Linked DNA regions of Homo sapiens: regions 1, 2, 3, 5 and 6 are each linked to region 4. Evidence: promoter capture Hi-C in 16 types of primary human blood cells and fetal thymus (Javierre and others, 2016). All regions are on one chromosome and are shown on one strand. The core of a region is centred on a gene start or on the middle of the fragment in contact, and the rest is flanking DNA. Distances in the headings are between cores, read along the strand shown. Region 1 holds the start of UPRT (uracil phosphoribosyltransferase homolog). Region 2 holds the start of ABCB7 (ATP binding cassette subfamily B member 7). Region 3 holds the start of RLIM (ring finger protein, LIM domain interacting). Region 4 holds the start of BRWD3 (bromodomain and WD repeat domain containing 3). Region 5 holds the start of FTX (FTX transcript, XIST regulator). Region 6 holds the start of CHM (CHM Rab escort protein).

Region 1 (4,095 bases), core at 1,414-3,913, 5.5 Mb before region 4:
TGGAATAATTGGCTAACCACATGTAGGAGAATGAAACTGGATCCTCATCTCTCACCTCATACAAAAATCAACTCAAGATGGATTAAGGACTGAAATCTAAGACCTGAAACTATAAAAATTCTAGAAGATAACTTTGGAAAAACCCTTATAGACATTGGCTTAGCCAAAGATTTCATGACCAGGAACACAAAAGCAAATGCAATAAAAACAAAGATAAATAGCTGGGACTTAATTAAACTAAAGAGCTTTTGCACAGCAAAAGGAACAGTCAGCAGAGTAAACAGACAACCCATACAGTGGGAGAAAATCTTCACAATCTATACATCTGACAAAGGACTAATATCCAGGATGTACGAGGAACTCAAATCAGAAAGACAAAAACAAACAATCCCATCAAAAAGTGGGCTAAGGACATGAATAGACAATTCTCAAAAGAAGATATACAAATGGCCAAGAAATGTATTAAAAAATGCTCAACATCACTAATTATCAGAGAGATGCAAATTAAAACCACAATTTAATACCACCTTACTCTTGCAAGAATGGCCATAATCAAAGAAATTAAAAAATAGTAGATGTTGGCATGGATGTGGCAAACAGGGAACACTGCTACACTGCTGGTAGGAATGTCAACTAATGGAAACAGTGTGGAGATTCCTTAAAGAACTAAAAGTAGAACTACCATTTCATCCAGCAATCCCATTACTGGGTATCTACCCAGAGGAAAAGAAGTCATTATACAGAAAAGATAGTTGCACACGCATGTTTATAGCAGCATAATTCGCAATTGCAAAAACGTGGAACCAACCCAAATGTCCATCAATCAATGAGTGGATAAAGAAGCTGTGAGATATATATATATATACACATATATATGTGTATATATATGTGTATATATACATATATATGTATATATATATATACACATATATATATGTGTATATATATATATGTATATATATATGGAATACTACTCAGCCATAAAAAGGAATGAATTAATGGCTTTTGCAGCGACCTGGATGAGATTGGAGACTAATATTCTAAGTGAAGTAACTCAGGAATGGAAAACCAAACATTGTATGTTCTCACTCATAAGTGGGAGCTTAGCTATGATGGATACAAAGGCATATGAATGATACAATGAACTTTGGGGTCTTGGAGGAAAAGGGTGGGAAGGGCTTGAGAGATAAAAGACTACAAATAGGGTACAGTGTATACTGCTCGAGTGATGGATGCACCAAAATCTCTCAAATCACCACTAAAGAACTTACTCATCTAACCAAACAGCACCTGTTCCCCAATAACCTATGGAAATAAAAAAAAAATTATAAAAAAATCTGTATAGGCATGTTAAAAAAAGGAAGGACAGAAATACCATTCAACTCAGCAATCCCATTACTGGGTATATACCCAAAGGAACATAAATTATTGTTTTATTAAAGACACATGCACACATATGTTAACTCCAGCACTATTTACAATAACAAAGACATGGAATCAACCTAACTACCCATTAATGATAGAATGGATAAAGAAAATGTGGTACATATACACCATGGAATACTATGCAACCATAAAAAATAATGAGATCATGTCCTTTGCAGGGACATGGATGGAGCTGGAGCCTATTATCCTTAGCAAACTAACACAAGAACAGAAAACCAAATGCTGCATGTTCTCACTTATAAGTGGGAGCTAAATGATGAGAACACATGGACACATAGTGGGGAACAACACACACTGGAGCCTACTGCAGAGTGCATGGTGTGAGAAGGGAGAGGATCAGGAAAGACAACTAGTGGGTACTAGGCTTAATACCTGGGCGATGAAATAATCTTTACAACAAGCCCCCATGACAGAAGTTAACCTATGTAACAAACCTGCACATATATCCCTGAACTTAAAAGTTAAAAAAAAAAAAAGATTCTTGTATCCCATCTCGGATCTACAGAATCACAATCTCAAAAATGAGCCGTAAGAACCTGCATTTTAACAAGCTCTACAATTATTGTGGTACATACTGATGTTTGAAAAGTACTGCCCTAGACACTCTTACCTCAGGCCGTTATAGTGAGTCCATACACTTAAAAATAAGCGTCTTTCCAAGTACTTTAAAGATTCAAAATGATAGTGGATCTGAAATGCCGCCTGAGTCCCCATGACAACGTGTACACTGTGGGGCCCAACCAATAAAGATAAGAAAAGCTTTGGCGGTCAAGCATACTTGGGAAGCTGCAGTTTCTAGAACAGTCTAGTAGAGGACAGCCTCTTCAGCAGCCTGCTAGGCATTTTTTTACTTCTTCCTTCTGTTATGCAGACAAGCTAACTGAAGATGCGGTTACTGAGATATAATTTCTCTGCTAGGTCACAAAGTCTGAAAACATGGGCCTTACGTGTGTAACTGTGTATCATCACCTGCCACCCCCAGTTTTTCCTGGCTCTACTAATCACCCAAAGTTCTGAATGCAGAAGCCCCAGGGGCCCCCGGAAGATCCTTCAAGCTGGCATCCTTGGCCTCGCTGCGGGGGCTTAGCTACCTGTGGGAACCCACGTAGCAAGGGTGACTCAAAGGGTTAACAAGCAGTGGCGCCGCAGAGTGGCGGGGAGTGCAGCCAATAGGGTGTCTAGGCAGGCAGTACGTCTGGTGTGGGCGGGAGTGAGCCAAAGTGTGCTAAAGGAAACCAACAGCGGCCTAGGGGTGAAAGGACAGCCAGGGTTAGATGTTCTGAGGAGGCGGGAGCAACCGAGAGAGCACGTGAGCATCTGTCCTTTCTACCCGTTCCTCTTTATCTTTAGTGTTCAGTAGCAGCGGGGATAGCCCGGGGCCCGGTGTATGGCCACGGAGTTACAGTGTCCGGACTCCATGCCCTGTCACAACCAGCAAGTAAACTCTGCCTCAACCCCAAGTCCCGAGCAGCTGCGACCTGGCGATCTGATCCTGGACCACGCAGGGGGAAACAGAGCCTCCAGGGCCAAGGTGATTCTCCTCACGGGGTACGCCCATTCTAGCCTGCCGGCCGAGCTGGACTCTGGGGCCTGCGGCGGCTCCAGCCTCAACTCAGAGGGCAACAGTGGTAGTGGTGACAGTAGCAGCTATGACGCACCAGCTGGCAACTCCTTCCTAGAGGACTGCGAACTCTCCCGGCAGATCGGGGCGCAGCTTAAGCTGCTGCCTATGAATGATCAGATACGGGAGCTACAGACCATCATCCGTGACAAGTAAGCCAAGAGCGGAAGGGGAAAGGGAAGTGGAGGGTCTTGCAGGCTGTGGGCGGGGATTGGAAGTAAAAGGGCTAAGAGACAGTGTTCTTGGCCTTGGCAAACTTTGGAGATTGGGGTAAGACCTTTTATTTGGTGTGTGTGTGTGTGTGTGTGTGTGTGTGTGTGTGTGTGTGTCGTGTAACTCGAACGCCAACCTTCTCTTTCCAAGTTCCGGTGTCTAACATCACTTTGGGTGGGGAGGAAGACTTTAGGTAGCCTCTGGGCTCTTTGTCTCTCCCAGGAAAGACAACTCCTTGGCCATTCCAGGCAGGTAAACTCCCCTATACTATGTGGGCAGTGCTTGTCCACATGGTAAACCTATAACCCAGAAATGGTTACTATCCAAGGTTATGCACTACCACCAATCACCTCAGGTTCATAAATAGAAATAAAGCAATTTCAAGGAAATTCTATTCAGGCCCTGACCCTTTAGTATTTGCTACTGCAAACAAGGTCTTTTAGTCTTGGAGTTCAGGTTTACTTGATCACATGAAAGCTTATCGTCCAACTCTTATCATTTTTCACTGTAAACTCACAGAACATAGTTAATGGATCAAAGGGAGCCTAAAGGAGCCTTTGGCCCTTCCTAATCCCACAAACCAATGTAGCCAGAACTTCATGTTAAAATGTAATTTTGAAATTTCTAAACCTACGTTGTAAATGGGTTTTCTCCAGGGAAATATGTACCATGATGAACTACAGCTATTTTCTTTATTGGCAGCACTTTAAATGAGCAGCATATCAAAACACCCCTTTTTTAGTGGCAGGGGTTGGGGGGACATGCCTTGATCTTTTAAAAATGGCTACTGAATGACAGATGCCACTCCCTAAACC
Region 2 (4,290 bases), core at 695-3,194, 5.7 Mb before region 4:
TCTTCCAGCTTAAGAAATTTTATCTTAAGATATCTAATTTTATCTAAGATAACATTTACAAATTTTATCTTAACTTCATCTGCCTTATTGGAGAACTACAGAACAAAAACCATTCCCAAGAGATCATGTGTTAGAAACTTTCAACCATAAAATACTTTAAAAACCTTAATGAAATCATCTAGATTCGCTTCGTTAGCCTAATCTGCTATTTCCTATCTTGAATGACTCACTACAGTCTAAACTACGTGCAGTTCTAGAAAAGGTCCATGTTCTCTCTGACTTGTGGGCCTTTGCACATGCGATTCCTTCTTTAACTGGCTAACTTCTAATTTTTCAGCTCTTGCCTTAGATATCAGTTACTTAAGGCAATCTTCACTACCTTACAATTAGACTTAATACCCCTCACATATACTGTCCCATACCTTGTACCTTTCCCATTATTACACAGCTCCACTATATTTTAATTGCCGATTAATTTACATATTTCCCACTAGATTTTAAGCTCTTTAAAGACAGGACTTATATTTTGTTTGCTCCTGTAGAGGTGTTCAATAATTACTGAATGAATTATAAATGTCATTCCATCAGCCTTCCACATGCTTAGTGTCATTCCCTATTCTCCCTGTTCAGAACATTCTCCCCAGTTCTATCACCAGCATGAAATACTCTTTATAACCTGGTCCTTAATTATCACTATTTCCTCTGGATGCCTATAGCCTTTATTGTACATACTATTCATTTGCTAATTAACCCACCACTGTGTTTTTCAGTTATTTTTGTAATGCATAGATCCAATCTCCTTAACTAAACTGTACAATCCTTGAAGGCATAACTGTATGTCTCTCTTAGTACCCTATCATCTAGCACAGGGCTATGTACAAGGTAGACGTTAAATATTTGTAGATGAAGAATCAAAATTTAAGAGGTTGTTTCTCATACAAAACTGACAATATTTTAAAGTGATAGTGATAAATACGTGGTGGCAATTAAACCTCTTGTCAATACACAGAAAATAAAAAGATATACTTTAGTACAGTTAAGTACAAATAATTTTTTAAAAAACCGTTCCTGAGTGAGAGGTAATAATGGACTCAAATTTTAGGAGGCACTACAACCATAGCTACATTCATAAGTTAAGGATAAGTAGCCTATGGCTTCCAAAATGACCTGTGCACAGAGAACATCACTGTATTTTTCAGATCTAGGACAGTCATATTTATACAAGAATTTAGGGCGGTCTATGTTTTGGAAAGATAGTTACGGTTTTGGCCTATCAAGAAGCACGCCTGTCAGCAAGGGAGTTAACTGGCGCCACCTGTTTATAGATAGCTTGCTGTCATTACAGTGCTCTCCGAATTGCTAATTCCAACTGAGTAAAATCTGAACCACAGATAAACTGTCCCAAATTCCATTACTAATTGGGGAAAATAATCCAGTCTTCCTCGTCTTTAGAAAGGCAAGCAGGCTGGGAATGGTGTCTACCCCAACTCTTAATATGAGAGAAAAACTATGACTCCGAGAGCCTCCAGCGCTCCAGGTGTCCTCTGCCCAGAACCTCCTGCCCCGTTTCCCTTTGCTGAACTCAAAGGTTTTCTTCTTCGCCCTTTCCTCAAATTACTGACGTTAATTTCCTTCACTTACTGCTGCTCCCAGTTAGCCATGACTTTCTTCTTGGTGCTCTCTCTGCCCCGAGGTCAGGAGGGCAACCTTTTCCCTACAGGTCCCCTTGCCCTTCACCCTATTCTTCCATGTCAGTGGCATCTCACCTGGTAGGCTCGAGCGGTTCCCAAGGCGCCGAGTTGATGTGGCCTCCACTGCGGACCTGAGCCGCTAACAGAGACTAAAGGCCGGATCAGAATCGCGGAGTGCCGGCGCTTTTCGAAAGCAGCCGCCGCGGCCGCCCAGCGCCAAGAATGCATCGCGAGCAGCGCCATCTTGAGCGAGGAAAGAGGAACCGAGAGAAGAGGATTATGGGACACTGGCGGACTGAATTCGGCTACCTTAATTGTCTCTCCTCTTCTTGTTTTCCCAGGGCCCCAGACCGGAAATGGATTCTGTTTGAAGATTCGGATGCATTCGCACAGCCTCTTTTATTTGTTTTTCCTTAGGGCCGAGCTTTGATTGTTTTCCTTACACAACCGGGAATATTGGAGTAACACTGTATTTTTCTCTTTTCCTGGAGTTGCCAGATGAAATACAGGATGCCTACCTAGTTAAGTTTCAATTTTACATAAACAACGAATCATCTCTTCGTGCGTGTGTCCCAAATATTGTATCTGCTAAATCTGTCAACCCCATCTTGTCTCTCATAATACTCTCTTACCTCCTCCAACTCAATGTCACGCTCCCCTCTCTCCATTTTCCCTATGCATATTCTTATCTTCACTCCCTTCTGAATTAAGGAAAGATTAAACTACAGACGTTAATTTCCCCTGGGAGGAGGCTTCAGCTGTAAGATTTACTGCTTTTCTGTCCTGTAAGGACTTTAACTTTGCTGATTGTTCTCTGTTGCGCAAACCTTGGGGCAGTTTTCCTTTGGTCTGTTGCTCGTGGGACAGTCTCACACACACACACACACACACACACACAGAGAGACTACAGACATCTTTACTAATTTTGTCACTCTTTCTAGCTCTTCGCTTTGGTTTTTGCAGCGTCCCTAATTCTTGAAAAATCGCTTAGGTTGGCTGAAGGGTGGTAAAGTGAAATGTATGGAGAGAAGACCATGTTTAAAGACAGGCTTATATTCTTTTGTCACCACTATTATCAAACAAAATGTCAAAATATGTTTACAGTTATCTAGGAAACTGCATTTCCAGTTGTAAATGTTACCTGAAACCCCGGAGACAATAATGCAGTTGCAATTTTATATTCACTGCTGCATTCTCCAACTTTTCACACAAAAGAGACAAATAATTATGGACTTCTTATGAAGAGGTACTTTGGACTAGTAAGTCTGATAAAGAAAAACAGAAATCTGTAGCCCATGCAGTTAGCTTTTTTGTTCTGGGATTCATTCAAGGGGATGCTTGAGCTAGTTATTTAAAGAAAAATAGAATTCAAGTTGAAGAGGTTGACTGGAATTACACGTAAAGAAGATGACATGTTAAAAGCAAGAAGGCATAAGAAAATATTTTCAGGTTCAGGAGTCTATGGAGTTTGGGAAAGTAGTAGGAGGTTAACCTGAGTGAACAGAGACCTGATGGTAAAGGGCCTTCTATTTCATTCTAAGAAGTTAATACTTTATCCTATAACCAGTGAAGAGTTTTAATCAGGAGAGTAACATGATCAGATTTATATGTCCATTAAGCTACTCTGGCTTAAGTGAGAAGGTTGGATTGGACGGAGTTCATATTGAAGTCATGAAGTTAATGCAATAGTTCAGTCATAAAATAAAGGCCTCAACCTAGCAGTAGCAGTGGCAGTAGATCGATTGCAGGGCAATTAGGAGATGGAATTGGCAAGACTTAGTGACTAATTGGATGTTTCTAGCTTATTATTGTATTGTTGACAGTAGATCAGTAATGGCTTCATATTAATGACTATATTGTCATCAACAAATATTTATTCAGCATCTATTCTGTGTTAGACAGCTACAGTATACATTAGAGAAACTCTAGACTCTACTAATGATTTCTCTTAGGGCTGAATATTGCCACTGAATCTTACCACCCAGTTGTAAAGTCTTTGAATGGAGCCAAATTATTTTTTTCCAAAAGTAGTGCTCATTGTAAGCCAACTGTTTTGATCAAAAAGTGTGAATAACATTGAAATACCCAAGTTGTTACTCTATGATGAGCTAAAGTGAGGCAAATATTTATTTGCCAAATAAGCCGAAGAAAATTTCCAGGGCACCCAGAAATAGAACGTGAGGCATAATAAGAGTTGCACACTGCTGGGGAAGAGCAGCAACAAAAAGGCCAACTCAGCCTGTAATAACTTGACACATAACTGTCTGACATAAATTAAAGAGACAGAGGTATACACAATAAAAGCTGCTATAAATAGCTGCTACAACCACAGATCACATGATAGCACTTTATGTATGCAATAATTAAATGTGTATAGTATTTTGTAACTTACAATCCGCTTTGTCATACCTTATTTCATTTAGTCCTCACATCGACCATGGAAGATAGGTATTATTTATTAATATGCCCATATTTATGAGGAAACTGAGGCTAAGAAAAGTTGTGACTAGGTCAGAGGCCACAGAGCTAATGGGATGGAGACCAAACCTAGGTTTTATGACTCCAAACATAGTGCTCTTTTCACTTAATAACACCTGAA
Region 3 (3,897 bases), core at 863-3,362, 6.2 Mb before region 4:
GAACAATAAATATTTGTAAACATGCATTCTACACATAAATCATCAGGAGACGCAACAAAAAATAAATTACCTGACTGTTATGACATAGTATTGAAATACAATAAACTGGATTTTAGTTTTCTTCACTCTGCTCTAGAAAAAAAAAGAATCCATTATTCTTCCTCTTTAAAAAGATACACATTTTCTTTGAATTAGACACAACCTAAAAAAAAAAATACAGACACACCATAACCCAACCTAATTCAATATTAGTATTAGGGCATTTGGGGAGAGCAAGAAGGTCAGAGGGGACCAGGAGTTAGATAAAAGATGTCTTCTAAGACTGAGAGACAATTTACGTTTTATTATAAGCTTGCTTAAAATAAGCCTTTCCTTATCAGACCAGTAATTATTTTCAGATTCTGATAGTCACTTTCAAGGACTTATCTGGCACATTACACTAGCCTAAGGTAGGAACTAAAGTATTAAAATTCATCAGAACATCATGGACTAAAAAAATCTTTGTAACATTTTTCAGTAAGTGGAGTGTGTCCTAAAATCAAGTTTTAAAAAGTGGATTGGTCTTTCTAGCTACCTAAGCTATATTTCTACAGTTTAGAAAAGTCATGGGGGGGGAGGGGTTATAATTGTGCCAGTCCTCCAGGGAAGATACAATGTACTTAATGGGGTGATAAGTAGTTACTCTGTCTATAATCACGAAGAATGAAAGAAATGATTAGTAGCAGTAGGTTTATTATTTCTTCCCCCTTTCAATCAGTCCAAAACACTGCGGTTAATTCTGATTCAGGAAATGCGGGCTCCTTACTTCTGGCAAAAAATCATTGTGGGGTCTTGCAAATGGAAGATGACAATCTGATACAACTGCTTCCTCTTGCCCCAAAATGAAAAAAAAAATGACCTCAATAACAAGACTGCTAGGCCTCAGATTCCCAGACTAACCTGTGGAATAAGTATGGTGAAACTGTCTAGGGAAGGAACGTGGCTGTCTCCTCCATCTTGAAATTAATCAGCATAAGGGAAAAAGGGACCGAGTATTCAGGAAGCAGAAGCCCAACCGGTTAATACTAGTTACTAAGCTATGGCATGCGTGGCAGGTACCGTCTGCAGAAGCAGAGACCCCCCTAGGCTTTTTTTTTTTTTTTTAATGGGGGAGGGATTGAGTTGTTGGTGGATTAAACACAAATTAACTTGAAAATTTGGCCCAATTCCATCCCTTATCCAGGAGAACACAACAAACACCTAACGGCTTTTCCCTCTCTTTTGCGGGGGGATCCTTCCAGTGATACCTGGCAAAGGATATGCCAGGGTTATTCGAGCAAGGGAGTAAACCACATTTGCCTCAGATCCTCAGGGAAGATGTCATCGCGGCCCCAGGGGGCGCCTAATTGGTAATACCCTGCAGAAGGGCTCAAAATGAGGTTTTGGAAATCTAAAGGCCCAAGAGTTGCCAGCATCTCACTTGGGGCAGCCTGATTTTTTACTTCCCTTTTCCCAAACCCAAGCCCGCCATGGAAAACGCGGGGAGGTCAGGGAAGCCTCCAGAGAACAGAGAAGAAAAAGCCTGAGACGTTCTAAGATTCTGACGCCTGAGGCCAAAACTCAAAAACTGCCTCCCCCGATTTCCTAAGGCTCCGGAGGGCCTGGGCTGCAGCTCGCGCGGCCACCGAGAGGAAGTACTACCCACCTCCTTCCCCTTCAAAGAGCCTGTCGACTATACCACTCAACTAAAATGGCAGCGGCGACTACGCCACGGAGCCCCCCGCAGCAACGGGCCTGGGGTCCGGAGGCGGCGCTGAGCCTCTGCCACGACGCGTCACTCGGGCCATTTTGAGAGAACGCGGCAGCCGCGGCTCCGCTGTCTTCCTCTCGCTCTACATCATTTCTCACAGGATTCCCAAGTCTTCACTTACTAGGTTTTAGGGTCAGGATCCGACTCGGTTGGTTCGGCCGCCGCCGCCGAGGCTGCTCCGCACCTCCCTGGCCGCCGCTCTCAAGCCCGCCTCCAATGAGTAGCTGGTTGAGACCCGCCTCTAGCCCAGCGCCTGCTCGGAGACGTTGCTCAGGCAGCCATTATCTTCCCCATTGTTACCAAGCAGCGACAGGAAACGACTGCCCACAACAGGAAGTGATGATGCCGCGTCCCGGCACCGCAGCCCCACTCCCAGCCTATTAGCCAATCCCAGTCGATTCCTCGAAAAGGCTCCGCGGGAGGAGGAGGGGGACGGCAGACGACGCGGCAAGGCGGGCGGCGGTTTGGAAAAGGAAAGCTGTTATGACGCCCACCATGTGACAGGCCCCACCCTCCTCCGCCATTTTGAATTGTGGCGAGAAATTTGCGTTCTGAGAATTGTGGGAACCTTCGCTTTCCCATTTTGAAAACTGAAGGACGTCACGGTCTGACTGCTTGAAGACATTTTCAGAGAGAGAGAAATGTGATATTAGTCTACCCTGACATCACATCAGTTCACACAATCCGTGCAGACCAGTTCAAAAAGTAGCCTGCGTTTTATTCAACATGTATTTACACAGTGCCAACTGCATGTCAAGCACCATTGTAGCTGCTTAGGAAATTAAAATAGACCAAAATTAAGAAAGAAAACAGGCCACGTTCGGTGGCTCACGCCTGTAATCCCAGCACTTTGGGAAGCCGAAGCGGGCGGATCACCTGAGGTCAGGAGTTCGAGACCAGCCTGGCCAACATGGTGAAACCCAGTCTCTACTAAAAATACGAAAATTAGCCGGGCGTGGTGGCGGGCGCCTGTAATCTCTGCTAATCGGGAGGCTGAGGCAGGAGAATAGCTGAACCCAGGAGGCGAAGATTGCAGTGAGCCGGGATCTCGCCACTGCACTCTAGCCTGGGTGACAGAGCAAGGCTGTGTCTCAAAAAAAAAAAAAAAAAAAAAAAGAAAACAGATCAAAATCCCAGTTCTCTTGAGTCTTTATAGGGGCCAGGGACAATAATTTAGAAAAAATCAAACATAAATACATATCATGTTAGTGATAAATGCCAAGGAGAAAAATCAAGGAAGGGGGACAGAAGAGTTCCTTGTAGGGACAAACGGATTCGTGATGTTTAAAAGACTGATAACTTTGAGGCATTAACTCTAAAGTATTCGAAAAAGGGCGGTGATTGTAAAAGGGTGGGAAAATCTGATAACGTTGGGATTTGTAAAAGGGCAGTTAAAGAAGGCCTTTCTTAGGTAGTAATGCCTGAAAGAATTGAGGGAACTCGCCACACAGCATGCCACTCCCATTGTCACAGTTAAAGGAAAACCTTACCCAAGTTTTTAGATTCTTTTCCTTTTCCCAATTTTTCTGTTTTCCAATAGCATGCCAGCTATGCTGGCTTTGTTACGGTTTTTCCAACAAAGCTAACTTCTTCCTACTTCAACTACTTTACCTTTGCTGGAATATTTTACTTTCATATCTTTGCTTTCATCATCCAAGCCTCGCAATTATTAACTTCCTAGAGAAGCCTTCCCTGACCACCCTACCTAAAATAACTTCTTCCTGAAGGCGGAAAAAGGTCTGAGGAAAAAAAAAAAAAGAAAAAAGTAATAACGACTTCTCCCATCTCCTTACCTGCTTACTTTTCTTGTAAAACACTTAATCTGAAAGTAAGTTATTTATTTGTTTGTTTACTTCACCCTTTCTGAGCAGTAAACCTCTCTGTTTTGTTCACTGTTGTGTCCCCAGCGACCACATAGTAAGCCCTCAAAATACTTTGGGAGAATTACCCCCTCACCATGATGGATGTTATATCAGCCTGGAATATAAGTATTTCACTCCAAGCAGTTAAAACAATATCCCTCATACTTACCTGCCCAACTCCCTAGAAGACTCATTGATATTGTCATTTTTGGCAGAGGGATACATGATTTAGGCGCTGTGTCTCTA
Region 4 (4,081 bases), core at 733-3,232:
TTTAATCTCCTTTGCCACTTGCTTAAAATAACACATATAGGCTGTGAGAAGGACAAATGTAAAGGAAAACATTTTCAATACACCTCAGTATTAAAACTATATATAAAAACCTGTATCAGTCATTAAGTGTTAAAACATATTAGTAGGCACTGTTGTTTTTGCCTCTTTTAGGGGGAGGGAAAGACTTAAGTCCAACAGAAAGACTGACTACAAATTAACCTGGCAGTACATGAAGTTTTTCAAAACTAATTTTTCTCCATCTGAGAAATTGTTACTATTAATAATACAGATGGTCGAGTTTACCCTTATCACAATTATACCATTTTCTGTGATTTGCAAAATATAAGAAAACTATACAGTCGGTAGACTTGATAATAATAATGTGGCCTCACTGTTGTAAGATAACACAAACAAAAATAACAAAATGAACATTGAAGCAATTTAAATATAGTCTTATTGCAAGCAAATTTTAAATCATTTATATTTAGAGTCTATCATACACCGCCAACTTTCTTTAACTTTGTCCGATTTTCCTCCACTTGGATCTTACTTGAAGGAAAGATAGCTGAATTTAGATTTTAGTAACATCATTCCTTTCTCCTTTCACTACCCTCCAATGCACTGTGGCAGCAGCTAACACAAGGGAACCTCCCCCGCAAAATAAAAAGGATCACCTGTTTTTGTGTGTCAATGCTGAACACAAGGTACATTTATACTATGAATTATATTTGCAGGAGAAACAACATAGACCAATGCCTTTGGTCCTTCACTAAAGTATATTCCATTTTTAAATATGTCCATTGTTGTCTCCTTGTAAACCCAAAATCGTGTTTCACCAATTCTCAAAAAGTGATAACTCAGTTTCTATTTAGTGAAAACGGGTCTATGCAAATGCGACTTAACTGATAATTGAATGAGCTTATAAAATCGGAGATACGTAACGATTATGCTTTTACTCAGTAGACCATTACCTAACCGGCAAAATTTGAAATTGGCTTGACGCTCCTTATTATTTTTAATTATGTCGTTTTTCCTAATCCCTGGTCCGTCAATTCCCCTCCAGAGCCCCTTCCTCCCACGCCTCCCCCCTGCCCCCCCGCCCCCCCCAAAAAAGACCAAGCCTGGCCTTAGTTCCCGTATTTCAGGCCAGGACCAACCAGAAACCAGTTTTCTTCCACTAATCCGGAACTCCGGGCTGTTACCAACGCTGTCATTGGCCAGCGTCAGACCTTAGTACGTGCCCCAAGATAACCCCTTGGTTTCTCTCCCTTTTCCGCCTACAATGGGCCTTCCCCAATGTTTGTAACATATTCATAATCCACAACACGGCACCTCTGATAATCAACTCACATTCTTCAAAGTTTTCGGGTGGAAACAAGCAGGGCCAAGGGGAGGGCAAGGTACCCTTTTTCCGACTAGCAGGGATGGGGGAAGGGGCAGTCGTTCTTTGGCTCTGCACCGAGCTCTAGAACCTCGTCGGCTGAGAGGTGGGGGGCGGGTTGGGGGTACAAGGTGGGGAGGGAGTGGTGAAAGAGTTAGGTTAAGTTGAAATGAAAACTTTACTCACCAGATCCTCGAAGCTTCTTCGGTGCTCTTTCCCCTCCCAATCTAAGCGGCGCGGAATCAGCTGGGGGCCGGACGAAAAGAAAGGGGGAAGCGGAGGCAAATGATGAAGGAAAAGCCTCCGCTCCCCATCAACTGGACCCAACCTGTGTCCCAGTCCTCAACACTTTACCGTCTTTATTTCTCTCGGCCTGATAGCTATTGGCTCAGAGCTAGACAAGTATATGGGGGGGGGGGGGAAGGGGGGTCGAGAAGGAAATCCTGAAAAACTGCCTCCCACAAGCATAAAGCGGGGACGAGTTAAGACCCCAGCGTTGTCTGCCCCTTTTGAGGGAAGAAGCCAATTCACCCCGGTGACAACAGCTACGGGTACCCAGATCGAAGCCTCTATCCCAGCCCGTCTTCCGCCCCTGACTTGCCCTCCCCTTCCTCCAGTCTCACCTCAACCCTCCCCACCCTTCCCGAAGGGGCTCCGTACCTGATGCTCCTCGAGCTCCTGCACTAGCACCTGAGCAAAAGGGAAACACAGATATGAGGAGCAGCTCGGGCCATCAACCCATTCCTCCCTCCACACTTAAAGCCCAGCCGCTGACCGTTTGACTAGTCAAGGCCGGCCTTTCCCTCACCCTCAACGGAACTGCTCGTCCCGCTGCCTCGATTTCCCCACTGGGACCATTCACCACGACTCCCAGATCTCTTTCTTCCCCTTACCTGAGCGGATTTGTTGCAGGGTCCAGACTGCAAGAACCTAGCGATCAGGTAATACAGCTCTGGGGAAGAGGGGGGAAAAGAGGTTCAGAGGGAGGTAGAGAAGAGAAATAGAAGCTTTTTCAAAAGAAACTGACAGCCTTCGCGCTAAGCCCCCATTCCCTTAGCACCCCCCCACCCCCCGACACAGCTACCCACCGGCTTCGATCTGGGTAGGTGCTGCCGCCATCCTTTTCCCGAGGGGGTTTGGGGGCTTCGCTCCGGAGGGGCTGGCGGGGGCGGGTGGGGGCGCTGCCTCTATTGTGGTGAAGCCCCCATGCCCGGGAGTCCCGCCGCTTCCGCCGCACTCCTCGTCCTAGTTTCGCTCTCTCTCGAATTCATCGCATCACGTTTCGACCCATAGATATTCTAGCCCAAGAGCTGAGGAGGCGGAGGAGGAAGGAGAGGAGAGGGAGAGGGAGAGAGAGAGTGAGTGAGTGAGAGAGAGAGAGAGAAGAGAGAGAGAGAGAGAGGAAAAAGAGAGAGAGAGAGAGAGAGAGAGAGAGAGAGAGAGAGAGAGAGACGCGGGGGGTGGGGGGGCGGAGAGAGAGAGAGAGAGAGAGATAGACGGAGCGAGAAGAGGGAGGAGCCGAAGTGGCGAAGAGGTGGGCGGGGGCAAAGGGGGTGGAGAGAGGGGAGGGTAAAAATGGTGATAGGGTTTTGCAGCGCTCATAGTTCCCCGCTAGAGGCACTAATACAGCAGCTGAGCCTAGACTCTCCCGGAGCCCGATGGTTGCTTAGCTACAGCTCTGGGAAGGAGGGGGAGGTGCTAACTGACGGCCGACGCTCTGGCAGCCGCCTTGGAACTCTGTGGTGGCATTCGCGTCTGCGAGCTCCGGAGTGACTTTCCCTTCCTGTGAAGGCAATCCGGCCCTTTCCGGTGGAGGACCCTTCCCCCTGGGTTGATCTTGAGGAACTTAAGAGACGGTGTTTTGACTCGACTCCTTTCCCCTTTTTCCTCCCGGTACCAAAGCGGTTTTGTTTGCTGTTTATACTCTACCCCGTGGAAAGGCGGCTAGCTGGCTAAAGGGTTTTATGCCTGGGGGAGGATGAGTCGCTATTTGGTCGTGACTTGTTTCTGTTTAAAATTATTATTATTTACCAAATGAAAATGTTGTACTTACCAGTCCAAAGTGCGGGGCTTATATTGTTAGAAGACCACTTAAAATGCTCCTGGATTCTGACAAATATTGCATGAGAAATTTGCAATCAGCCGTGAAGCATGTTTCCCCTTCTGAAAGTTTAACACGTGCCGTATCTACGGCTGGGATCTAACACATCCCATTCCTACAGGGTAATTTCCTATTGTGTTTTCAAATACTACTAAAGTACTTTAACCAAGAGTTTTCAATAATCTTTATGTATTATTGCCTATCTCTATGCAAGGTATCAATAGTTTTCTACAGGTTCGGGACTACACTGTTTAATATATAACCCCAACCCTTGGTACCGCACTGACCTTCAGTATTTGGTTGCTGAAATCTTCAATGATGAAAGGGGTTGGTATGATAATTGACACAGATTAGTAAACCGGGTCCTTTTCTTCCCTACTTTCCCGTAACATCCTGTCCCCACCCCACTCCCTCACCTAAACCTGATGAGACCAGAAATGCATTTTAAGTTGCATGTATTATTTACATTGAAATATTACAATTTGAAGGTTCATCTAAATTTAAGGCTATATTCTTGGGAATTGGGTTTCCTCACTCAGCTCTGCCACTGACCACAGTGGGCCTTGAATTTCTAAGTTGACATAAACTTAGCCTAGGTT
Region 5 (4,530 bases), core at 898-3,397, 6.5 Mb before region 4:
CCTGGGCGACGGAGCAAGACTCTGTCTAAAAGTAAATAAATAAATGAGCGAGAGAGAGAAATAGGCCCAGAGAAGGAAAAGGACCACCATGAAATAATAGCTAGGATTACTGGGAAAAGATGTTTTTTTCAGTTTTTAATCCTGTGCTCCTTCTAACTATGTCTGTATCTAAGTGCTAACTTACTAGTTTTAGCGATTAACAGCAAGTCTTCAGAGAGTCATGACAGTACATCTGCCTTTAAAATAGAAACTCTAATCTTCTCCCTTGACAAAACCGTGCTGAAAGTTCTACAGAAGAAAAAATAAAGGAAAGGGTGAAAGCCCAGGTTACCTTCATACCACCACTGCCATTAACTACTTTTCAATCTTTCTCCACGACAGTATGAGTCCCAGGCAGCCATAGGTCCAAATTCCAGGTTTACGGCAAAGAGTAACAAGCATTTGGAAACACATCCAAATCCTCACGCCTATGTTCTCAGGGAAGAAAATCAAGAGCTTTCGGCCAACATTAACATTGGATTCTCACACTACAACCACAGTGTTTTGCTACTCTGATGGGGTGACTGTATTCAGAGCCAAGTACAGCGACCCAAGATCGGAAAGCCAGAGAGCCCTCCGAATGCGTACTGCCCAAATGTGGCCTGTCTCCAAGTGCTCCCTTTTTACGCATTTCCTACGCACCGCCAGCTGCCGCAACCTTTTGCAGAGTCATCATCGCCTCCTCATTTTTGTACCCACTTACCGATAGGCCACTGAGAGGCTAAGATTCTGGGTTAATTTCTAGTGGATCTGGCCACAGCATAGGAGAACTCCAACTCAGGTTGATCCCTTCACTCAGCTAAAAAGGTAGTTCTCTGCAAGGCCTGCTAGCCCAAGATGGCCAAGCAAAGACAGCTTACCTCCCCCCTCGCCATTTTGCAACCTTAATTACCCGAATGCTGAGCGCCTCCCCTCCCCGGCACTCCGTCTGAAATACGCATGCGCGCCGCTTCCTCCTTACCGTTCTCCCCAACCATCCAGATGTTGTCTCAAATATGCATGAGCGCCACCTCTACCTCCCAAACGCTGGTACCAACTCCTAGCAACTTTGCGTTGTTAAATATGCCTGCGAGTCCTTCACTTCCCGACCTTCCAACCCTCCAACCCCGACGCCATTCAAGCCTTGCGCATGCGTGCCTCCCTCTCCCCACCCCCGCCCCACTGGAGCCCGTCCCCTTAACTCAGGTCTTCTCAAATACTGTAAGCTTGAGCGCCGCCCCTCGGCGCCGCGCCTCCTCATCCAGCCTCTCAAATACCCTGCGCACCGCGATAGTCCTCTCTCTTCTTGCTCCCATTTGTATACAGTATGCATGCCTGATGCTATCTGGACGTGTTTCTCGCCACAATTCTGCCCCAGTGCCCAAGGAGAGCCATTACCAGCCTTCCCTAATGCGAGTAGATGCGATAAACTAGGGAAGTTGAATCGGGGAAAGAAGGCGTTGCAGGTGATCAGAGTGAATCCCAGATCTAGATGGAATCGGTCCCAACTCCAAGGGAGGGGGCTAGAGTACCCCAGGATTCACATAAGACCGGTCAACCTGAACAAAGGCAAGGAAAACTTTCACAAACCATCGGATGAACATAATCCTAAGGCCTCGCCCTTTAAATACATCTGCTACAAATGACGAACCACAAATGTTTTAAACAGGGAACATTATGGAAAACACCGATGCTCAGGTGCCTTGACTCTAGTTAGAGGAAAGGAACCCGCATTCCTTTCACAATGGGAAGCAAATGCTCAACATCCTTTTGGAAAACTGGGGCCTGTAACGTATTCCATTTTTTCCTCCCGTGAACTGGAAAAATGCACAAATTAAGGATCTTCCTGGCCCAAGTTCCCTCCGCCGCCCTCCATGTTCTGTTCTTCCCCTACATCGTTCCTTTACCTCCTGGTTGAATTCAGTGTCGTAGCAGGAATTCTTAGAGCTGGCCGTCCCAAGATGGGGTGGAGAGAGCGGCATGAAAGAGAGAGAGAGAGAGAGACACGCCTGAATGGCAGCAGCAGGCCTTAGCGGCAATGGACAGCAGGCACAGGACCAGCTTTGCCTCGAGCCGCAACGCTGATGCCAGAAAAGGACAACCTCTCCAGAATCGCCGCAGTGTGCTTCCAGCGCATGCGCTGCTAACGCCCCTTAACCCCCCCTCCGCGCCCCGCCTCCCCCACGCGCCGCTCTCCAGCCTCTAGGAGTCTAACCCTTAGCGGTCCACCGACCTCCTTCACTTCTTTCCCAGGACGCTATCCCACTCTGCTTCTTCCACCTTTCCCCTCCCCTCGGTCACACTGGCCTCCACCATCATCCCTCCCTCAGCCCATACTTCTTTCGTCAATCCCTCTCCCATTATTCTTAGCCCACCATCTACCTTTATTTCCTCTGCTATCGTTAGTGGTCTACCCTTCAATTCTTCACTTTCCCTGCCAGTCTGCAGCCCTCTTGGGCCTCTTACTCCTCTCCTCCTATGCCTGATGTTGAAATTTGTAAAAATTACCGCAAAAATTTTTTTTTAAATAATTGTAGCCCGGGCGCGGTGGCTCACACCTGTAATCCCAGCACTTTGGGAGGCCGAGGTGGACGGAACCCTTGAGTTCAGGAGTTCGAGACCAGCTCGGGTGACATGGCGAAACCCCGTCTCTACAAATAAATACAAAAATTAGCCGGGCGTGGTGGTGCGCACCTGTACTCCCAGCTATTCAGAAGGCTGAGGTGGAAGAATCACTCGAGCCCAGGAAGTCGAGGCTACAGTGAGCTATGATTGTGCCAGCTATGATGTTGCCAGCCTGGGCAACAGAGTGAGACCCCATCTCAAAAAAAGAAAAAAAATATTTCCACACATCCTCTCCAAAGCAGCTCTCAGGGTGAGCTCAACCAGCCTGTCTTGGGCAAAGAGAACACCTTTTTGATGATGACCCACAGGGAAGATCCAGAGACAGGGAACCAGAACAAAAACTGCAAAAGTGTTCAATCAATTTGGGGGTAAGAGGCAGTAGACCACCAACATGGAAAGCTCTTTTCTTTCTATTCACAACCCTGGTATTGTCTGGACATTAAAAATGAGATTCAATGTCCTTCACTGCTTACTACAAGGCCTGTTCTTGTCTTCTGTAAGAACTCAAATATTAATTTTGAGGGAAATGGCATTATTTACTTAAGAGGCTCTGAAATAGATCCCTCTTTGGGTGTGAACTAGAAAGAATACAAAATAATATTTTGTTTCTCTTTATTATGTTTTACTTTGGTGTCTGGTTCTTATTGCTTTCTAAAAGAGCCAGTTTGGAAATACCAAAAACTGAGACCCGCAAATTCATAAATCCTAAAACTCATAAACTTATACATCACCATCCTCTCAAATTAACTTAAGAATGTTATATCAACATTATTCAGAGAAAAATGGGTTTGCATTTGTTATATAATACGCCCAAAAAATTATACAACAATGTGCATATGAAGAAGAAAAAAGAGAAATAGGCATGCATTAAATAAAAAAGAAATGCCGAAATCTCAGTGGTACAAAGAACCTCTTCTAAATTAAAATAATCATTTATTATTACACAAAAGTTAAAATATAAGAAATTTTACCCCAAATTCTACAACACTATTTTAACAAATGCTCTTATCTCTGTTATTTTTCTGTTTTAATGGTTTTATTAATATATAATTTACATATCATACAGTTAACCAACTTAAAGTGTACAATGCAATGGATTTTAGTATATTCACAGAATTATGCAGCCACCACTACAATCAATTTTAGAATATTTTCATCACCCCAAAAAGAAACTTCATACCCATTAGTATTGTCTTAGTCCATTATGTACCACTGTAACAAAATACTGCAGACTCGGCAATTTATAAAGAACAGAAATTTATTTCCTCACAGTTCTGGAGAATGGGAAGTCCAAGACTGAGGAGCTGGCATCTGACAGTGGCTTTCCTGCTACATCATCCCATGGTGGAAGGGCAAAGAGATAGAGAAAGAGAGAGTGCGCGCAAGAGGGGGCCAGAACTCATCCTTTAATAAGGAACCCACTACTGAAATAACAAACCCACTCCCTCAATAATAGCATTAAGCTATTCATAAGAGTGGTGCCCCCATGACTCAAACACCTCCCTTTAAGCCTCACCTCCCAACACCACCACATGGGGCATCAAATTTCCAACATATGAACTTTGAGAGACATATTCAAACCATAGCAAGCATCTTTGTGTTCTCTTATGATTTTTGTTCAAATATATAATGTTTTGGCTGGGCGTGGTGGCTCATGCCTGTAATCCCAGCACTTTGGGAGGCCAATGCAGGAAGATTGCCTGAGACCACAAGTTCGAAACCAGCCTTGGCAACATAGCAATACCCTGTCTCTATTTAAAAAAAAAAAAAAAAAGAGGTGGGGGCCAAGCACAGTGGCTCGCACCTGTAATCCCAGTACTTTGGGAAGCCAAGGCAGGCAGATCAGTTAAGGTCAGGAGTTCAAGACCAGCCTGGCCAACATGGTGA
Region 6 (4,088 bases), core at 439-2,938, 5.2 Mb after region 4:
TATTCCAAAATGGATGCTGTTCTCAGTTTTAGTATAGACTTAAAAGAAAAAATGAATAGTCCATTGGCTCTTTCCAGCTCTCATCCAACATCTGTTCATAGCAGCTACAACCAGGTTATTTGCAGCCATGCAGTTATTTTCAGGCTAAGAATAAACCTGTCCATGCTGTTCTGAGAACTGTTACCCAGGCATTTTTTGTTAGACAACATAAAGACCATCTATTTTACCTTCCTTATATTCAAAAACAAGGAAACTGAGGCTCAGAGAGATTTAGTGCCTGGCCCTCCCAATTCAAGCAATTCATACTAGCACTAAGCAAGACCTAAAACCAAGTTTTCTCAATTGTTTCTACGAATATGGGTCAACTCTGAGGATCAGAACCACTGACTGTTTTCCTGGGATGGAATGGGCCTTTGGAAATTTACCAGCTGTGTGATCCTGAGCAAATTACAACTTTTCCAAGTCCCCTTTTCCTCTTCTACAAAATGCAGAGAGTACCTACTACTCTAACAAGGTTGTGAGGATTATGTTCGGCTTGTAAAGTGCTTAGCACAGTGATTAGGAAATTTTAAGCATTCGAAAACAGGTAGCTATTATTTTTACTCCCAACCTGAAAACATGGCTGCTCCTAATCATGGCTGTATGAGAAGACAACGAACTGAATTCATTAACACAATGGACAGGGTCCCATCCACCAGAGCTTCTCTGGCCTACCACATTCTACAAACAGTAAAAAACCCCATCAAACAACCTATTTCATTCCATCTAAAATGATCATCCCTTACACTATTAAAAAAAATTGAAATTGCTGCCATATGTGTTCTGCTACGTGTTGTACACTGAATATGTCAACTAGAAACTGCAGAGGAGTTTCTGGTTCCACCCAAAACATGAAGAACAAACGACGGGAAAACAAGAGTTAGATAAGGTCACACACCTGAACTGGAACTCAGGACCTTATTCTCAGCACATTTAGTTATTGATGGTAGAAAGCAAGATGCTTTAAGCACCATAAAGCAGGAATAATGGCTACCTCAACAAAATAAAATTCCCTAGGTTTCTCAACAAAATAGAATCCGTTTACTTTCCCTAGTAAATTCATACGCACATGGGCAATAATTGAGCATCTTTCTTGTAAAACTGAGGATTAAGCTGTGTCTGAGCTGCGATGTATGCTAAGATCATACAAATCTATGAAAAAGTCCTATGAAATGGCGAGACAAAATGATGGGGAATATCACCTTGAAATCAATAAGGAAGGAATCATAATGTCTTGCCAAAGTCGTCTCCGTTGATAAAATCCCGACCCTCCATTTCATGACACTGCACATCCACTTCCCTCTAAGGAAATTAACAGGAATCACCGCAGCAACCAACCTCAGCAATCAGCATCGACCAGATCAACCCCTACTCAAATGGCGATAAGCACTGCGGGTCCCAGCCCCTCCCTGTAACTGCCAACTCCCGCGCTGACTCCGGACTACCTCACTTCCTTTCAGTTCTCCCTCCCACTCTCGACCCACGATGTTTGTCCCAAAACTCGCCACTGACAGAAAAAACAGAAACAAGACAGTCTTCCTAAACTTTGTCCAGGAAGCACCAGGCTACACATACCCGTCCCTATTACGATCACATCAAACTCCGAAGGGAGAGTATCCGCCATCTTGACGGGAAACGTGTCATGTGACTATTACTTGTGGAAATGAGATCAAGTTAGGCATTCCCTCCGTGGAAGGCGGAAAAGAAAACAGTGCATTCTGGGTGTTGTAGTTCTTGGGTGGAAGGTCCAGGCAGGCGACTACAGTATTATATTTAAAATGTTTACACGTAAGTTAAAAGCTCGACTCATTTTCCAGGCTGAATGCTGTAGCTCATTTAGCCTGGAGGGTTGAAGTAGGAAAGAAATGTAGATTTTTATTCCGTTAGCTAGGATGAATGTGGGAGACTTGGATACCCCTTGACAATACTGAAGCAAAATTGTTAGGAGACACGGAGAGCGGAGTGAAATTGAAGGCGGTTTGCTCTGTGAACAAAGGAGACTTTCATTCCAGCCTAAAAAACTGTTTCCCGCCATCGTTTCTGTACTTTCGTGTTGGCCCTCGAGGCATGGTTTTTCACACCAATACTTTCAGAATATATTCCATATCTTTTTCGTTTCCATGTCTCCTCGATGAAAACCCACAAAAAACCTCTCACCCTAGTTTCGCCAGAATGGAACTCCCACCGCGTCCGTATTTGTTCCAGTTAGTCCAGACAGCCACTCGGGCAATAAATTAGCCTTGCTTTACAGGAGGGAAAAAATATATGAAAGCATGGTTGCGCTGGATAAGCGTCTGTTGAGTCTGAATTCGATTTTCCGCACCAACTAGATAAGTTCATGTAAGATTCTCCTTAGTTTACATTTAGTTTCCAATCTATTAGTTTCCATAAGCTACCGTAGAAATAATTAAGGTAAAATGGTCTTTATATTAAAGTGATTGTATCTGATGAGGGGCTTTAGGTCGTCTATGTCTAACAGCTAACATAGCTCTCATAAGTATCTTCAAGGTCTGTCGCCTCCCACCGCTTCCCTCCAACCGCCCCCCACCCTGCCCCCGATTATTTAATACTCCGCTGTCTGACAACACCAAAGCAAAAGGGGAAGGATGCTGGGAATGAAGGAGGATACTTTTTTGACGACAGAAATTTCTTGTGTAGTTATTTTACAAGAGTTTCAAAATAAATCAAAGATAATGTGCAGTAGTGGGCCTTCCCTGACACCACCTATCCGCTAAGATGCTTGTGGTTCCCCAGACATTGTTTTCTTTCCAGTCTCTGACCACGCTCATGCTGTTCTTTCAGCATGGAATGATCTTCCCATTCTCTAGCTAACAGTTATTCCCAGGATGTCGCTGGGCTTCCACCTCCTCCTCCTTTCGTCTCCGTGTGTGGGCTGTTTCCCTACATGGTGCTAGACTTTGTCTTAACCCGCCATACTGCATTTATGACGATTCCTATAGAGTACACATATCCCCATATATCCACACAAAAATACACACCCAGACATGCAATACCATAATTATAAACCCCTGTACAGCATGACAGACACCAAGTCTCATTTATCTTTTTCACTCCTGCACCTAACCTAAGCCCGGTGCATAGTAGGAATTTAATAAATGTTTGCTAAACCAAACTTGATTTTGACTCCCCTAATAGATGGATGAGACGAGTCCCTGTCCTCATAGTGCTTACCATCTTTGCCTTTATATCTGCCCACCACTATCATGTGTCTTATATTTAGAAGATGTTCAGTGTCCATTAATTGTAAATATTTACATGAAAATGCTTTAAAATGTATTTTGATACGCTTTTTACTGCATTTCTCTTGCATTTTACCATAATCATTAGCAACATTGTACATGTTTCATTACTTTCTTTTATAGATCATCCAGTTGTATTACACAACTCTCTTAAGATATGGTCTTTGATTAGTATTTTCTGTAAAACAGATTCCCCTGAGAAGTATAATGTACTGTTCAGTAAACCACTTTGTCATTTGCCTTGGTATGTAAAGCAAGTTTTTAGTATTATCAGAAGTGAAACAGATATTATTTGTGAGACTCTTGATAAGACAGTAGAAAATGGAAACAAATGGATTTCTCAGAGTAAACACAGAAAACTTTCCAAAATCTTCTCTAATAATGAGAAGCCACAGATGGATGGTTAAAAACCTGATAAATAAAAGTATTTCTACCATACTTTGGATATATATTTATATACATTTGTTCATGTATACGAGATATATAAACTACATACATATACTTTTCAATATGAGTATCACTGACCTTCTAGGGATTCAGAAATTTTCTGACAATCACACCATGAAGATGCAATTCATTAATTTGTTTATTCCTCAAATATTCATTCAGCACCTACTATGTGCAAGACACTATTTTGGATGCTGAGATTAGAGCAATGAACAAAACAGACAACAACCCCTGTCTTCATGAAGTTTACATTTAGTAGGGTAAAACAAAATAAACAAGTAATTACTCTGTAGCATAGATTTTCCAATCTGTGCTGCCCTTAGTTTGAAACCTTCTTTTTTT

The links. Contacts are between HindIII fragments. The CHiCAGO score rates a contact against its expected background, and 5 or more counts as called.
Region 1: the fragment with the promoter of UPRT here is called in contact with a fragment that was not itself captured in region 4 in 6 of 17 cell types (fetal thymus, naive CD8 T cells, total CD8 T cells and 3 more); the score reaches 13.1 in fetal thymus.
Region 2: the fragment with the promoter of ABCB7 here is called in contact with a fragment that was not itself captured in region 4 in 3 of 17 cell types (total B cells, non-activated CD4 T cells and naive B cells); the score reaches 6.9 in total B cells.
Region 3: the fragment with the promoter of RLIM here is called in contact with a fragment that was not itself captured in region 4 in 6 of 17 cell types (fetal thymus, activated CD4 T cells, monocytes and 3 more); the score reaches 10.3 in fetal thymus.
Region 5: the fragment with the promoter of FTX here is called in contact with a fragment that was not itself captured in region 4 in 4 of 17 cell types (fetal thymus, total B cells, non-activated CD4 T cells and 1 more); the score reaches 26.5 in fetal thymus.
Region 6: a contact is called between the fragment with the promoter of CHM here and a fragment that was not itself captured in region 4, in 1 of 17 cell types (total CD4 T cells). The highest score is 5.5, in total CD4 T cells.

What each region holds. Positions count from the first base shown.
Region 1 is chrX:75,271,422-75,275,516 of GRCh38, forward strand. It overlaps UPRT (uracil phosphoribosyltransferase homolog), which reads left to right and starts at 2,664. Exons shown (of 7, transcript NM_145052.4): 1 at 2,664-3,219. The coding sequence starts at 2,834. It overlaps LOC124905200 (a long non-coding RNA gene), which reads right to left and starts at 2,615. Exons shown (of 4, transcript XR_007068269.1): 1 at 2,057-2,615. RefSeq lists enhancers at 2,555-2,604, 2,625-2,674, 2,835-3,044. The HindIII fragment of the contact is 1,552 bases long and covers 2,204-3,755 here.
Region 2 is chrX:75,154,339-75,158,628 of GRCh38, forward strand. It overlaps ABCB7 (ATP binding cassette subfamily B member 7), which reads right to left and starts at 1,945. Exons shown (of 16, transcript NM_001271696.3): 1 at 1,767-1,945. The coding sequence starts at 1,934. It also overlaps a transcript of UPRT not described here. RefSeq lists an enhancer at 1,626-2,055. The HindIII fragment of the contact is 6,846 bases long and covers 1-4,290 here.
Region 3 is chrX:74,612,512-74,616,408 of GRCh38, forward strand. It overlaps RLIM (ring finger protein, LIM domain interacting), which reads right to left and starts at 2,113. Exons shown (of 4, transcript NM_016120.4): 1 at 1,911-2,113. RefSeq lists an enhancer at 1,718-2,037. The HindIII fragment of the contact is 9,843 bases long and covers 350-3,897 here.
Region 4 is chrX:80,806,972-80,811,052 of GRCh38, forward strand. BRWD3 (bromodomain and WD repeat domain containing 3) reads right to left here and starts at 2,906. Exons shown (of 41, transcript NM_153252.5): 1 at 2,470-2,906; 2 at 2,275-2,333; 3 at 2,042-2,071; 4 at 1,568-1,627. The coding sequence starts at 2,500. LOC124905202 (a long non-coding RNA gene) reads left to right here and starts at 1,837. Exons shown (of 2, transcript XR_007068278.1): 1 at 1,837-2,322. RefSeq lists an enhancer at 3,141-3,220. The HindIII fragment of the contact is 808 bases long and covers 1,579-2,386 here.
Region 5 is chrX:74,291,427-74,295,956 of GRCh38, forward strand. It overlaps FTX (FTX transcript, XIST regulator), which reads right to left and starts at 2,148. Exons shown (of 7, transcript NR_028379.1): 1 at 1,926-2,148. LOC124905199 (a long non-coding RNA gene) reads right to left here and starts at 1,170. Exons shown (of 2, transcript XR_007068266.1): 1 at 332-1,170. RefSeq lists an enhancer at 612-1,402. The HindIII fragment of the contact is 8,135 bases long and covers 1,243-4,530 here.
Region 6 is chrX:86,045,870-86,049,957 of GRCh38, forward strand. It overlaps CHM (CHM Rab escort protein), which reads right to left and starts at 1,689. Exons shown (of 15, transcript NM_000390.4): 1 at 1,615-1,689. The coding sequence starts at 1,663. The HindIII fragment of the contact is 19,030 bases long and covers 1-4,088 here.